2 separate regions of the Homo sapiens genome follow, and region 1 is linked to region 2. The links are contacts of gene promoters, found by promoter capture Hi-C in human tissues and cell types (Jung and others, 2019). All regions are on one chromosome and are shown on one strand. The core of a region is centred on a gene start or on the middle of the fragment in contact, and the rest is flanking DNA. Distances in the headings are between cores, read along the strand shown.

Evidence for each region. Contacts are between HindIII fragments. The study calls those that stand out against the background at their distance.
Region 1: a fragment that was not itself captured here is called in contact with the fragment with the promoter of KIAA1958 in region 2 in 1 of the 25 tissues and cell types used here (aorta).

Annotation. Positions count from the first base shown.
Region 1 is chr9:111,906,151-111,913,455 of GRCh38, reverse strand. The region is part of intron 1 of UGCG (UDP-glucose ceramide glucosyltransferase); the gene reads right to left. Among named protein-coding and RNA genes, the nearest start is that of UGCG, 13 kb to the right of the region's middle. RefSeq lists an enhancer at 3,934-3,993. The HindIII fragment of the contact is 4,643 bases long and covers 952-5,594 here.
Region 2 is chr9:112,481,645-112,488,076 of GRCh38, reverse strand. It overlaps KIAA1958, which reads right to left and starts at 1,250. Exons shown (of 4, transcript NM_133465.4): 1 at 959-1,250. It overlaps HSDL2-AS1 (HSDL2 antisense RNA 1), which reads left to right and starts at 433. Exons shown (of 5, transcript NR_171779.1): 1 at 433-1,098; 2 at 1,536-1,687. RefSeq lists silencers at 652-1,141, 1,222-1,281 and an enhancer at 1,712-1,771. The HindIII fragment of the contact is 14,239 bases long and covers 1-6,432 here.

The DNA.
Region 1 (7,305 bases), core at 2,024-4,523, 580 kb after region 2:
TCTCAAAAAAAAGAAAGAAGCAATGCTAGAGAAGACAGAACGTGCCCCAGTTAACATCAGGCTGTTGCAACAAGATGCCATTCAATACAGTGGTGAAGTTTCTAAAGGAAGCCACTGAAGCCTTCCTCCTACTTCTAGTAAATATGTGACAAGTACTTCTCATAAACAAGTCTCCAAGCATTCGACAGTAATTAGGCACTAGAACATCATGGGTCCATCTGCAAGATATTCTAAGACACATGTTCTTCCACATTTTAACATCTCTGACATCAATGGTACCTTACAATTGCTGCCAGGCAGATGGCAGCTCTGACTTACTGTGAAAATCAACCAATGAGAACTTCTAGATGATCAAAAAATACTTGCATCAATGCATCTTGATTTGATAAAATCCACTATTAAACTGGGAAAGACTTCTGGAGGGACACCGGTACCACCACCCAGACCACTTAGCCATGGGCTTGGTCTCTAACTAAGGCAGGTGTGTGCTGTAGCAAACATCTAACGTTTTAGATAAGGCCATACAGTTTTACACACACGTGCACACACGCACACACACACACACACCAGGTTTACAATGGAAAAACTTTAAAACCAACAAGAAATTTAAAGAACAGGGTGGTATCAATTTCTGATACACCAAGTACCAGAAAATACTGGAGCACCATCTATCGCAGTGCTACTCAAAGTGTGGTCTGGTCCAGCATTGCTTTTTACTGGTTTGCAAGTGAGAAACAATTGAGTGAAACCTTTTAGAAACTTGTATAGCAATTTAACATTGCCATGACATCAAGCATGTGATCAGCAATTTATTTTTATTGTAGTTTACCAAAGTATTGGCTCATGGCAGATTGGAATTTTTTTTTTTTTATTTTTTTAAGACAGAGTTTTGCTCTGCGACCCAGGCTGGAGTGCAGTGGTGCGATCTCAGCTACTGCAACCTTCGCCTCCCGGGTTCAAATGATTCCCCTGCCTCAGCCTCCCAAGTAGCTGGGATTACAGGCATGCACCACCATGCCCAGCTAACTTTTTGTATTTTTAGTAGACACAGGGTTTCACCATGTTGGCCAGGCTGGTCTCGAACTCTTCATCTTAAGTGATCTGCCCGCCTCGGCTTCCCAAAGTGCTGGGATTACAGGTGTGAACCACTACAGCCAGCCAGATTGGATAATTTTAAAGAACAACTGCTTTGCCATAGATAGTTTGGAAAATATTGCTCTACAGAGTTCATCTGGAGGACCAGACAGGTAAAACCACGATCTAAAACGCATATAACCACAAAAGTAATCACTATTCTATTTCTAACAAAATAGCAGACTAGATGCCTGAAACCCACCAGGTAAAGAACATCTAGACTGCTGGGGAAAAAAGTTTATATTACACAATTAATTGATTCAACAGGATATATATATATATATATATATATCCTGTTGAATATATATATGTATCCTGTTGAATATATATATGTATCCTGTTGAATATATATATATCCTGTTGAATATATATATATATATATATATATATATATATATATATATATATATATATATCCTGTTGAATATACACATATGAGATAGGGTCTTGCTCCGTTGCTCAGGCTGGCATGCAGTGGTGTAATTATCTGCATCTCCCAGGCTCAAGCGATCCTGCCACCTTAGCCTCCCCAGTAGCTAGGATAACAGGTACACTCCACCACACCAGGCTAATTTTTTTATTTTTTTATGGAGATGGGGTCTCACTATATTGCCCAGGCTGGTCTTGAACTCCTAGGCTCAAAGAATCCTCCTGCCTTGGCTTCTCAAAGTGCTGGGATTACAGGCATGAGCCACCACGTTCAGCCCCTGAACTGGTAATATACTGATATGGTTCAAATCACTAAAAATATTAAGAGGGTCTGATAAAAGAAATCTGTCACCACTGGCCCCCCATCTGCCTGTTTCCATTACTGCTTCCCCAGCATTACTAGTTTCTTGTCCTTCCAGAGGTTTTAAAAATGCATATACAAGTCAAAATATATACACACATTTATGGTATATATGAATTATATATGTACATATTCATAAACTTGTCTCTCTTCCTTTTTAATACAAGTGTAGTAAAAGCATGTTTTAAAATACATAATTGAACCGTTAGGACAATAAAGAAGAGTCTCTAAGGTCAGAAATGAGAAAAAAACCTCTTCAGTGACTGAGTGCTAGAGTCCATGCTTGCCTCCTGACCATCTACTGGTGACCTGGAGATGGAGAGAAGCCTGAGATAAGAATGACAGGACAACTGTTCTGAGAGCCTTGGGTAAATCTGGACTCCCTGAAAGGCAAGCAGAAAAATCCTGGTCCATAGAGGGAAGATGCGGATGCTCTCTATCTTGGATTCAGTCCTCAGTGAAATAGAATAAAAGAAAAAAGTCTTGGCCAGGCACAGTGGCTCATGCCTGCAATCCCAGCACTTTCAAAGGTGGAGGCAGGTGGATCACTTGAGGTCAGGAGTTTGAGACCAGCCTGGTCAACATGGTGAAACTCCGTCTCTACTAAAAAATACAAAATATGGCCAGGCATGGTGGTGTGCACCTGTGGTCCCAGCTACTTGGAAGGCTGAGGCATGAGAATCCCTTGAACCTGGGAGGCAGAGGCTGCAATGAGCAGAGATCGCGCCACTGCACTTCAGCGTGGGCAACAGAGAGAGACTCCATCTCACACAAAAACAAAAACAAAAAAGAAAAAAGTCTTCTTGGAGAACACCTCACCACGTGGGTTTGGGCCAAGAATGCAACCTCCCTGTGTACCTGAACAAAACCCAAGAGAAGAGAAGGAAATGAGGGAAATCATTATATATGACCACAAATAATATGAAAAGAACCACACAAGTTCTAGGAATGACAGTTACAATCACTGACATCAGAAACTCAAAAGACAAGTAATACAGAATCTTACGTACTCACAATTTACGAAAGAATTGGCATCTAGATTAGAAGAAGCTATCCAGAATGCAGCCCAGAGAGAGGGACAGGTAAAGACACAGAAATCATGAAAAAGTTTGAGATGTGGATGACAGAATAAGAAGGTCTAAAATCCCAGTGATTTTTATCTGTTGGTCCCACTGTGTGATCCTTAAGTGCTATTAAACTACCAAAACATGCAGGTCAAGTGCTGGCTAAGTAGCAGAGAGAACTGGCCCACTAATAATCTCAGTGCCTGTGGCAAGGCTTTAGATCAAAAACAGTAGCAACGAAGATCATCTAAGCTGTACTGAATAGTCTAGAGGCGATTACATTTTGGTAAAGTTTAGAGTAGATCCTACTTCTCCCTTCTCCCAAGATGTTTTACTTTAAATATCATTAGATACACCTCCTCCTTTGAAGAACTTTTCATGTTGAGAATGCAGTATTTTATCATAGATTCATTCTGACTCTCTCAACAGCCACAAAGCCCTCTCTAGGTTTATGGATAAAGAGAATTGTTAAGTACTATATCTGAAATTTCTACTCAAAATAAGCCAGACTATATCACAGGGCCTTTAAAAAATGTATTTGTGCCTCCCCTCTGTCCCTGTCTCTCTCTAATATTTTCTTTCCAAAACCCAACAGGTCAGTTTGTTGTGTACCCCCTAGGGTACGAGATCCTACCTTGCAGAATACTGTTTTGACTTACATAACGCAACCAACAAAGCCATGTGGTACAAATTACTTGAAATGTTTGTCAAAACAATAGAAGAATATCCATTAAGTCACCAAATAAACAAAACACCTCTAGCACTAGGCTCAGCACACAGTGGTACTCCATGACTGCTTTGCAGTCACTTACTGGACAACATCTTTACAGCCCCGAATGTACACTAGTCATTATCATATGCACTGGAATGCAACAAGCAACAGGTGAATTCCCTACTGTGAAGGAGCTGTGGCTTAATGGGGAAGTTGGGTTGCACATGCCCAGAAGCTCTTCTCCTTACAAAACTCTTAAAGATGTCAACAAAGCTTTGCTCTGGAGAATCGTTCCACAGGTGGAAACAATGCCTTTGGCCATGACCAGTGTGTTGGAAACCAATCTACAGATTTCTACACAGAAATCATGAAAGAGTTTGAGATGTGGATGACAGAATAAAAAGCTCTAAAATCCCAGTGATTTTTTTCAAAAAAATTTTTTTAAATCCCAGTGATTTTTTTTCAAAAACATTTTTTAAATCCCAGTGGTTTTTTTCAAAATAAAGAAGAGTTTCCAAGGTCAGAAGTAGCCTTGTGGGCTGGTGCAGTGGCTCATGCTTATAATTCTAGCACTTTGGGAAGATGAGGCAGGCGGATCACTTGAGGTCAGGAGTTCAAGACCAGCCTGGCCAACATGGCAAAACCCCCATCTCTACTAAAAATAGAAAAATTAGCTGGGCGTGGTGGCACACGCCTATAATTCCAGCTACTCGGGAAGCTGAGACACAAGAATGACTTGAACCTGGGAGGCAGAGGTTGCAGTGAGCCGAGATCGCACCACTGCACTCCAGCCTGGGTGACAGAGAGGGAGAGAGGGAGGGAGGGCACTGTGATCAATTGCCTAGTGTTTCAAAAGTGGCCTCCACGGTGGAGCCCTTAAAGTGGGGCAGTATTATAAGTGGCTCGGACAGGGTCTTACAAGTTTTACTGGTTTCTAACTAGTTTTTCTTTTAGTGTCTCAGATCAGGGTTTCTGCATTTCCTAGACAGTATGAACTTGAGCCTATGATTCCTACACGTTGCACAAGCTTTCTCATGGGTGTCCATTTCTACCCTCAGCCTAGGGCAGACGACTTGCTTTCTAGGTTCTATACTGGGAATCCAGTTCTTACCTTCCTATAATGCATCTGGCTTGCAGCCTTGACCTTTTTGTTGGGGAAGTGGTGTGGGGGGTACTTTTTATTGATACATAATGTACATATTATAAAGTCACCTGTAAGTACACAGCTCAAAGAATTTTCTCAAAGTGAAACTCTCATGTAACCAGTACCCAGATCAAAAAACAGTATTAGCAGAACCCCAGAAGTCCTCTCGTGTCTCCTTCCACGTACTATGCTCCCCTCAAGGGTACTCACTGTCCTGACTTCAGACTAGTTTTGCTGGCTTTAAATTTTTATATAAATGGAATCCCATAGGATGTATCTTTCCTGTCTGGCCTCTTTGGGTTGCGTTATGTTTGTGAGAATCATCCGCGTTGTTACATTTAGCTATCATGTATTCACTCTTGTTACAGGATAGTTTTACTAATATACCACACTTTATTTACTTTCTGTTGATGGATGTTTGGGTTGTTTACAGTTTGAGGTTATTATAACTAGTGTGCAGCACTGACTCTGTCCTCGCACTAGTACTAAAAGCCCTACTCTTCCCACCACCCACCCCCCAAGCCTTCAACTTTTGGACAAGATGAAGAAACGCTAACTGGATTTACTCTCTCCCACCTGAAACAACCAAAAAATCAGAAAAAAATACAGGAGACAACAGTTTTGAAGATACTGGACATCAAGCAAAGGAAGACAGTGATTCCTATGACACAGAAAATAAGGTAGGCTGGGTGCGGTGGCTCACGCCTGTAATCCCAGCACTTTGGGAGGCCAAGGCGGGAGGATAATTTGAGGTCAGGAGTTCGAGACCAGCCTGGCCAACATGGTGAAACCCTATCTCTTCTAAAAATACAAAAAATAATTAGCCAGGTGTGGCCTCACGTGCCTGTAATCCCAGCTACTCGGGAGGCTGAGGCAGGAGAATCACTTGAATCCGGGAGGCGGAGGTTGCAGTGAGCCAAGATCGCACCACTGCACTCCAGCCTGGGCAACAGAGCAAGATTCCATCTCAAAAAAAAAAAAAAGAAAGAAAATGAATTGAAGAGCTGGAGTCAACAGTCCAGAAAAACAAAAACATCCAGCACCCAACACGGTGAAATTCAAAATGTCTGGTATCTATTAAAAAATTTCCAAGCATGCAAAGAATCAGGAAAATATACCAATGAGAAGAAATATCAATAAATTAAAACCCCACCGGGATTCAAATTAGCAGACCAGACCAACCCACTGCTTTGCATTCCCTCTTGGTTTCTGGAATATGCAGATTTTCTTTTCACATTTTCAGGCTCTGGGTGTGTAAGTGTCTAATCGTTACAGCATTTCCATGTGTTAATAGGAGAGGTGGTTCTCACATGTGCACACGCCACCTCTCATTCAGAAGTAGAGTCTGTACGGGACTCTGCAAATGCAGTGTGATACAGGCTATCATCAAAGTATGTTTGGAACACTTTGAGAGAAGAGAGATGGAAGCATCCAACTACTCCTAGGAGGCGGTCTTTCCAGACTTTCATACTCCAAGTGTGGCCCATGGACCAGCAGCATTGGCAACACCTGGGAGCTTTTCAGAGCTTCAAAATTTCAGGCCTCATCCCCCAAAACTACTGAAACTCAATCTTCAGTTTAACAAGATCTCTAGGTGATTCACAGGCACACTCAAGCTTGAGCAGCACTGCTTTAAGACTCATCTCTGCTATAAATTCTTCGTGACTTCACAGACAAGGCTGAAAAGGCCTGGAGCTCATCCTCTAGGCAAGAAATAACCATGAAAGACTAAAAGGAAGCAACCAGGATCATTTTTGTATTTATAGAAGTTAAGAGAATAAAGTACAGGCAGGGGAGATGGAAGGCAAGGGAAAAATATTGCAAAGGTCCAAAAGAAAGAGACAAGCACACAAACCAGAAAGGCATAAGAAACAAGTGAAAGGCTGGGTGCAGTGGCTCATGCCTGTAATCCCAGCCAATTTGGGAGGCTGAGGCAGGTGGATCACCTGAGGTTGGGAGTTCAAGACCAGCCTGGCCAACATGGTGAAACCCCGTCTCTACTAAAAATACAAAAATTAGCCAGGCATGGTGGCGCACACCTGTAATCCCAGCTAGTCGGGAGGCTGAGGCAGGAGAATCACTTGAACCCAGGAGGCAGAGGTTGTGGTGAGCCGAGTCCGTACCACTGAACTCCAGCTTGGGCGACACAGCGAGACTGTCTCAAAACAAAACAAAACAAAACAAAACACACACACAAAAGAAACAAGCGAAGGAAGCAAAGTCAAGAGAAGGTGAGAACTCAGAATCAAGGAGTTTAGCCAATAACTGATGATGGTATTGCTGGAGGGGGAATGAGGGATAATGAGGGGTATACCTGGGTCAGGCTATGGTAACTAGTGGTGCCATTCATAAAATCTGGGCACAATGAGAGATGGGAAAGAGTAATGAACTTTTGAACATACGAACTTTAATTTACTCTCAAGACATCAAGTGGTGACATCTCATCTAGGAGACCAGAGGT
Region 2 (6,432 bases), core at 1-2,500:
ACCTGACTGGCTTGTTAGCTGTTTATTTCGTCGGGAGAGGATTCCGTCTTGCGAATCCTAACGAGTTCGGGAAAAAACAAAACTTTACTCCTAAACTTCAAAACACACACACACACACACACACACACACGCACACACACTAAATACATATAATTGTAAAAATCACAGCCACGTTCATTTTTTTTAAAGTCCCAATCTAAAACCTTAAAGAAAAAAAAAGACTTGAAGGAACCAAAAACATTCTTTGATTTTGGTTTGACGTTGTTCAGTCCAACCTCCTCCTACCCAGGGGAATACATTTCTCGATATATTTGATAACAAACACAAATCACTGTGCGCAGCCTCAGATGGGGGTGGGGGGGCGGAAGAGCCTTTTGGAGAAAGCCCTCCTCCGTTAGAAACAATAAATAAGGGAGCGAAGCCATGCACGTTCCTTCACACACGCCCCAAACGCACCTCGGCGAGCCACCCGAGGAGGAAAACTAGTGGGGCAGAGCCCTGAACCACCTCTCTTTCTCCATAAGCATCTCAAGACTTGGAAACTAAGAGGACAGACCTTTTCCTCCTCCTTCCCGCCCTCCTTCCCACCTCCGACAGACCCAAGAGCAGGAGCGGGGGCGCCAGCCCCACGCACTGCGCCTGCAGCCGCCGCTGAGACCCGAGCTGCCGGGCGGCGGGGCGGCCCGGGGCAGGCGGACCGGAGCCGCCACCGGGGGTCTCTGCGCCTCGCACCCCCAAGCCCGGCGCTGCCGACGAGCGGCCGCCCGGGTCCCTGCCCTCGCTCCGGCCTCGCTCCCCCGAGAGGAGACAAAAGGAAGGTTCAGCCGGGTCACCGCGCGGCCGCTGACGGGGAAGCAGAGTCGACCCCGGCGCGGCCGCCCCCCACACAAAGGGGCTCCCCGCCTGGGTCGCGGCGTCGGCGCACTCGTCCCCGCCCCGCGCGCGGGCTCTCACCCACCTGCAGGTGTCTGTGCGTCTGTCCATAGGAACGCGGTCGGCGCGGGGGGGCCTGCGAGAGCCGGGCAGCCCGGGCTGGACGGGACGGGCCGAAGGGGCGCGAGGGCGGGAGGAGAGCGGCCAGAGGGCCGGGCACCAAAGGTAAGTGGAGCGGGGAAGGCGCCCGGCGGGCGGCGGACCGAGGAGCGGGGCGGGGGGCGGGGGCGCCAGCCTGGCTCGGCCGACCGCCGCGCGCCGCTCCGTGCGCCCCGAGCTCCGCGCGCCCGGCTCGGAGCGCGGCGGGCGGGCAGGGGGCGGGGCGCGGGCGGGCCGGGGCGGGGCCGGCGAGCGGGGCGGGGGCTCGGACCCCGGGCTCCAGCCGGCACCGGAAACGCGCCGTGGTCGGCGAGACCCACAGGAAGTGTGTAACGACACCTCCTACGGCACGCACCGAGCTCGCAGTCGTTGCTGCCCCGAGGAGGTGTAGATCGAGCCTCCTGCCGCACACACGTTCGCACGCGGCGGCCGGCGCGCTGGACCGAGAGGTTGGAGCAATCCATCCTCCGCGCGCACGAGCTCAGTCCCTACTGCCCCGACAGGTGTGGAACCCGCCGTCCCCGCTATGGTCCGAGGAAGTGTACAGCACTGCTCCCTACTACACGTCCTGGGCCCGCGGTCCCCGATGCCCCCCGGAGCTCTGTGCACCTCCACTGAAACGCAAGGAGCAGACAGAACCTACACCATCCGTGAGGTGTGTGATTTCCCTTATAACGCATTGAGTAGAGTTACCTCTCCGCCCAGGGATGTGCATTAACACTTTCTACCGAGATACTACGTACAGCCCATAGTCACCGCTGCCCCGTGAAGGTGCCCAACAACCACCTGTAACACACACACCCCTATCCCATCGAGGGAGCGGGGATGCTTAATGATACCTAAAATACACTAAAACTAGGTCCTCCAGCAAACCAGAGACACAAGAACACCACCTACACGACTCAGCACAGCAAAGATGAAGCTGGACTTGCTAGGTGCTACCAGGCTTGGTCCACCTTTATTTTACCTAACACTTTCGTAGTACTTGCTGTGTGCCCACAGTTTGCACTGAGTACTTAGCGAATATTAATTTATTTAATCCTAAGAACTCTACATAGTGGGTGCTATTAACATTGCCATTTTATGATAAGGAAACTGAGGCACAGAGAAATTAAGAAATTTTTTCAACATCACATAGATAGTAGCTAGAGGAGCCTGGATTCATTCCGGACAGTCTGGCTTCAGAGTCTGCTCTTAACTCCCTTTCTATTTACAGCACTGACCATCTCCAAAACAGTAATCATGGTAATAAATAACATTTACACCATATCTGTCAGGCCTTACGTAGTGCCCACATCTTGGCCTCACCTCATCTGTGACAGGCATACCCCAGTCACTTGTACCCTTGGAGTAGGTAAGGGAAGAGAAGAATATTTTTGAGGGAGAGAAAGAAGCTAACTTCTTAGCAAAGGAGAAAATATCCAGGGTCGTCCAGAATCCAAGCAGGTAACTTCATTACCACATCAAGCATGTTCTCTTTTAGGTAGCTTCTGCCAACCCCTCTCCATCTCTAGAGCTGATTCCGGTTGATGTTCTTAACACCTTCCTCTATCAACACTCTTCCAGGTCTAGGCTGAAATTTAAAATCTGTGTAAATGTTGACACAATAATGTTTGTACAAACAAAAAAGACCAAAAATGAAAACCCCCTAGTTAATTGCTGCATATTCTAAAGATGGGATCTTGTGGAGAAATTGGAACTCTTATGCAATGCTGATAGGAATGTAGATGGTACCACCACTATGCAAAACAGTGGGGAAGTTCCTCAAAAAACTAAAACTAGAGCTACCATATGATCCAGCAATCCCACTTCTGGGTAAATATCCAAAAGAATTGAAAGCAGGATATCGAAGAGATATTTGCACATTCATGTTCATTGCAGCACTATTCACAATAGCCAAGAGGTTGAAGCAGCCCAAATGTTCATCAACAGATGAAGAGATGAATGAAAATGTGATATATACATATAATGGAATATTATTCAGCCTTAAAAAGGAAGGAAATCTTATCACAGGCTACAACATAGATGAACCTTGAGGATGTTGTGCCAAGTGCAATAAACCAGTCACAAAAGGACAAATACTGTTATGATTTGACCTATATGAACTATGTAGAGGTATGTAAACTGTGGGATTATGTCAAACTTGTGGAAACAAGACGGTAGAATAGTGGTTGCTAGAGGGTAGAGGGAGGGGAAAATGGTGATATAATGTTTACTGGGTACAGAGTTTCAATTTTGCAAGATGAAAAATTTCTAGAGATGTTACACAATAATGTAAATATAACACCACCGAACTGTACACTTAAAAGTAGTTACAAAGGTAAATTTTAAATTGTTTTTGCCACAATCAACTTCAAAACAAATCTAATTTTATTTGTTTAAAGGATATTTCACTACAATGAATTTTTTTAATGATGCAGGCATCCAACCATGATGAGGTACCTTGTTGAACAAACTAACTCTGCCACTGAGAACGATGAAAGCTGTTTAAAAAAATAAATAAGTCTGTTTAAAACAATTGGAGAGCAACCCTGTCATCCAAGGCTTGAGAGTCCACGAGCCCCCCAGGAAGAAGAGAAATACTCTGAAGTGAGTCCTGCATTCTCAGCCGCTTTTCCTTCTCAGGGCATTGTTGATTTGTGTCTAGGAGTGTAGAAGTCAGAAAGAAGCACCCTAGAGCTTACCGGCAGTCTTACTGGCCTGGAGATACAAAATTTGGAGTCAGGTCTATTAAGGCAGCTAGGACTTGAAAAACGAAGATCCTAGAGAAAGCAATCACAGTAAACCTAGTGGGTTGGCTGAGGGCCATAATCCCGGCACTTTGGGAGGGTGCGGCAGGAGGATTGCTTGAGGCCAGGAGTTTGAGACCACCTTGGGTAGCATAGTGAGACCCTCGTCTCTACAAAAAGAAAAAAAAATTAGCTGGGCATGGTGGCCCACATCTCTAGTTCCAGCTACTCAGGAGGAGTAGAGGAGAAAGAGAGAAGAAAGGAGACCTGTGAGATTATGCTTTTATTAGGTCTATAGGCATTATGCCCTTAAAAAACACATGCACAAAGGAGAGGAACTTATTTCCAAGACTCTGGTGTTAACCATTAGGTTTTTGTTTTGTTCTGTTTTGTTTTGAGACAAGGTCTCCCTCTGTTGCCTAGGCTGGAGTGCAGTGGCGTGATTTCAGCTCACTGCATCCTCTACCTCCCTGCCTCAGTCGATCCTCATGCCTCAGCCTCTTGAGTAGCTGGGACTAGAGATGTGGGCCACTACGCCCAGCTAATTTTTTTTTCTTTTTGTAGAGACAGGGGTCTCACTGTGTTACCCAGGGTGGTCTCAAACTCCTGGCCTCAAACAGTCCTCCTGCCGCACCCTCCCAAAGTGTTGGGATTACAGCCCTCAGTCAACCATTAGGTTTTTTCATGGTCAGCTGAGGGATGTGTTGCGTTTGGGAGTCTATAAGATGAACAAGTGGGCTATATCTCAACGACACTGGGAGGGGAAGTTTGTTTTGTTTTGTTTCTTGAGACAGAGTCTTGCTGTGTTGCCCGGGCTGGAGTGCAGTGGCATGATCTCAGCTCACTGCAGCCTCCTCTGCCTCCCAGATTCAAGCGATTCTCATGCCTCAGCCTCTCGAGTAGCTGGGATTACAGGCACACGCCATCCTTCCCATCTAATTTTTGTATTTTTAGTAGAGGCAAGGTTTCACCATATTTGGCCAGGCTGGTCTTGAACTCCTGAGCTCAAGTGATCCTCCCACCTTGGCCTCCCAAAGTGTGGAATTACAGGTGTGAGCCACCACACCTGGCCAGGAGGGTAAGTTTTAACAAGGCCAAAGGTGACAGCAGGGGGTTGGGTATACAACTGGGTTTCAAAAGACTTAGGCCAGGCCTAAAAATGAATGCCAGAGCAGCAACTATATTAAAAAATTTATGACACTGGTACATGCTTCAACATGGATAAACCTGGAAAAGTTTACAAAGCTATGGGAAAGGAGCCAGTCACAAAGGGTCATATATTATATGATTCCATTTATATGAAGTGTCTAGAATATACAAATCAATAGGGAAAGAAAGTAGACTAGTAGTTCCCTAGGGCTGAGAGGTTTTGGTGGAAATGTGAGGTAACTACTAAGGAGTAAAGTTTCTTTTTGGGGTGATGAAAATATTGTAAAATTGGATGATGTTTATGAAACTCTGATTATACTAACAGCTACTGAATTGTACGTTTTAATGGGTGAACTGTATGGTATGTAAGTTATTTCTCAATAAAACTGTTTCAAAAAGGAAGCATGAAATACAAATCGTAGGCCAGGCATGGTGGCTCACGCCCATCATCTCAGCACTTTGGGAGGCCAAGGTGGGAGGATTGCTTGAGCCCAGGTGTTTGGGACCAGCCTGGGCAACAAAGTGAGACCCTGTCGCTACAAAAAAAATCAAAAAATTAGCCGGGTGGGGTGGCACACATCTGTAGTCCCAGGTACTTGGAAGGCTGATGTGGGAGAATCAGTTGGTCCCAGGAGGGTCAAGGCCGCAGTAAGCTGTGTTTGTGCCACTGTACTCCAGCTTGGGTGACAGAGCAAGACTGTGTCTCAAAAAAAAAAAGGAAAAAGGAGTCCAATAGAGGGCAGAGTCTGAGGAAGGGGCACAGGTGCCATGTGCAGCAAGAAGAACCCCCTAAAACAGCCCAAGAAGCAGGCCAAGGAGACGGATGAGGAAGATAAGACTTTCAAGCAGAAGCAAAAAGAGGCATTAAAACAAAATGATACGTTAGAACATTTCTCCCAACAATTGCAGAATACAAGCTCCTTTCTTTCATTATTTTTATTTATTTATTTTGAGACAGTCTCACTCTGTCACCCAGGCTAGAGTAAAGTGGATCATAGCACACTGCAGCCTTGACCTCCACATTTAAGCGATCTTCCCACATCAGCCTCCTGAGTAGCAGGGACTACAGGTGGGTGCCGTCATACCCAGCTAATTTTTCTTTTCTTTCTTTTTTTGTTTTTCTGAGGTGGAGTCTCACTCTGTCGCCAGGCTGGAGTGCAGTGGTGCAATCTCAGCTCACTGCAACCTCCGCCTCCCGGGTTCAAGCGATTCTCCTGCCTCAGCCTCCCAAGTAGCTGAGACTATAGGCATGCGGCATGACGCCCAGCTGATTTTTGTATTTTTAGTAAAGACGGGGTTTCATCATGTTGGCCAGGATGGTCTCGATCTCTTGACCTTGTGATCCACCTGCCTTGGCCTCCAAAAGTGCTGGGATTACAGGTGTGAGCCACCGCGCCCGGCCATACCCCGCTGATTTTTAATTTTTTTTTTTTTTTTTTTGTAGAGATGTGGTCTCACTATATTGCTCAGGCTGGTCTTGAACTCCTGGGCTCAAGTGATTCTCTCACCTTGGCCTCCCAAA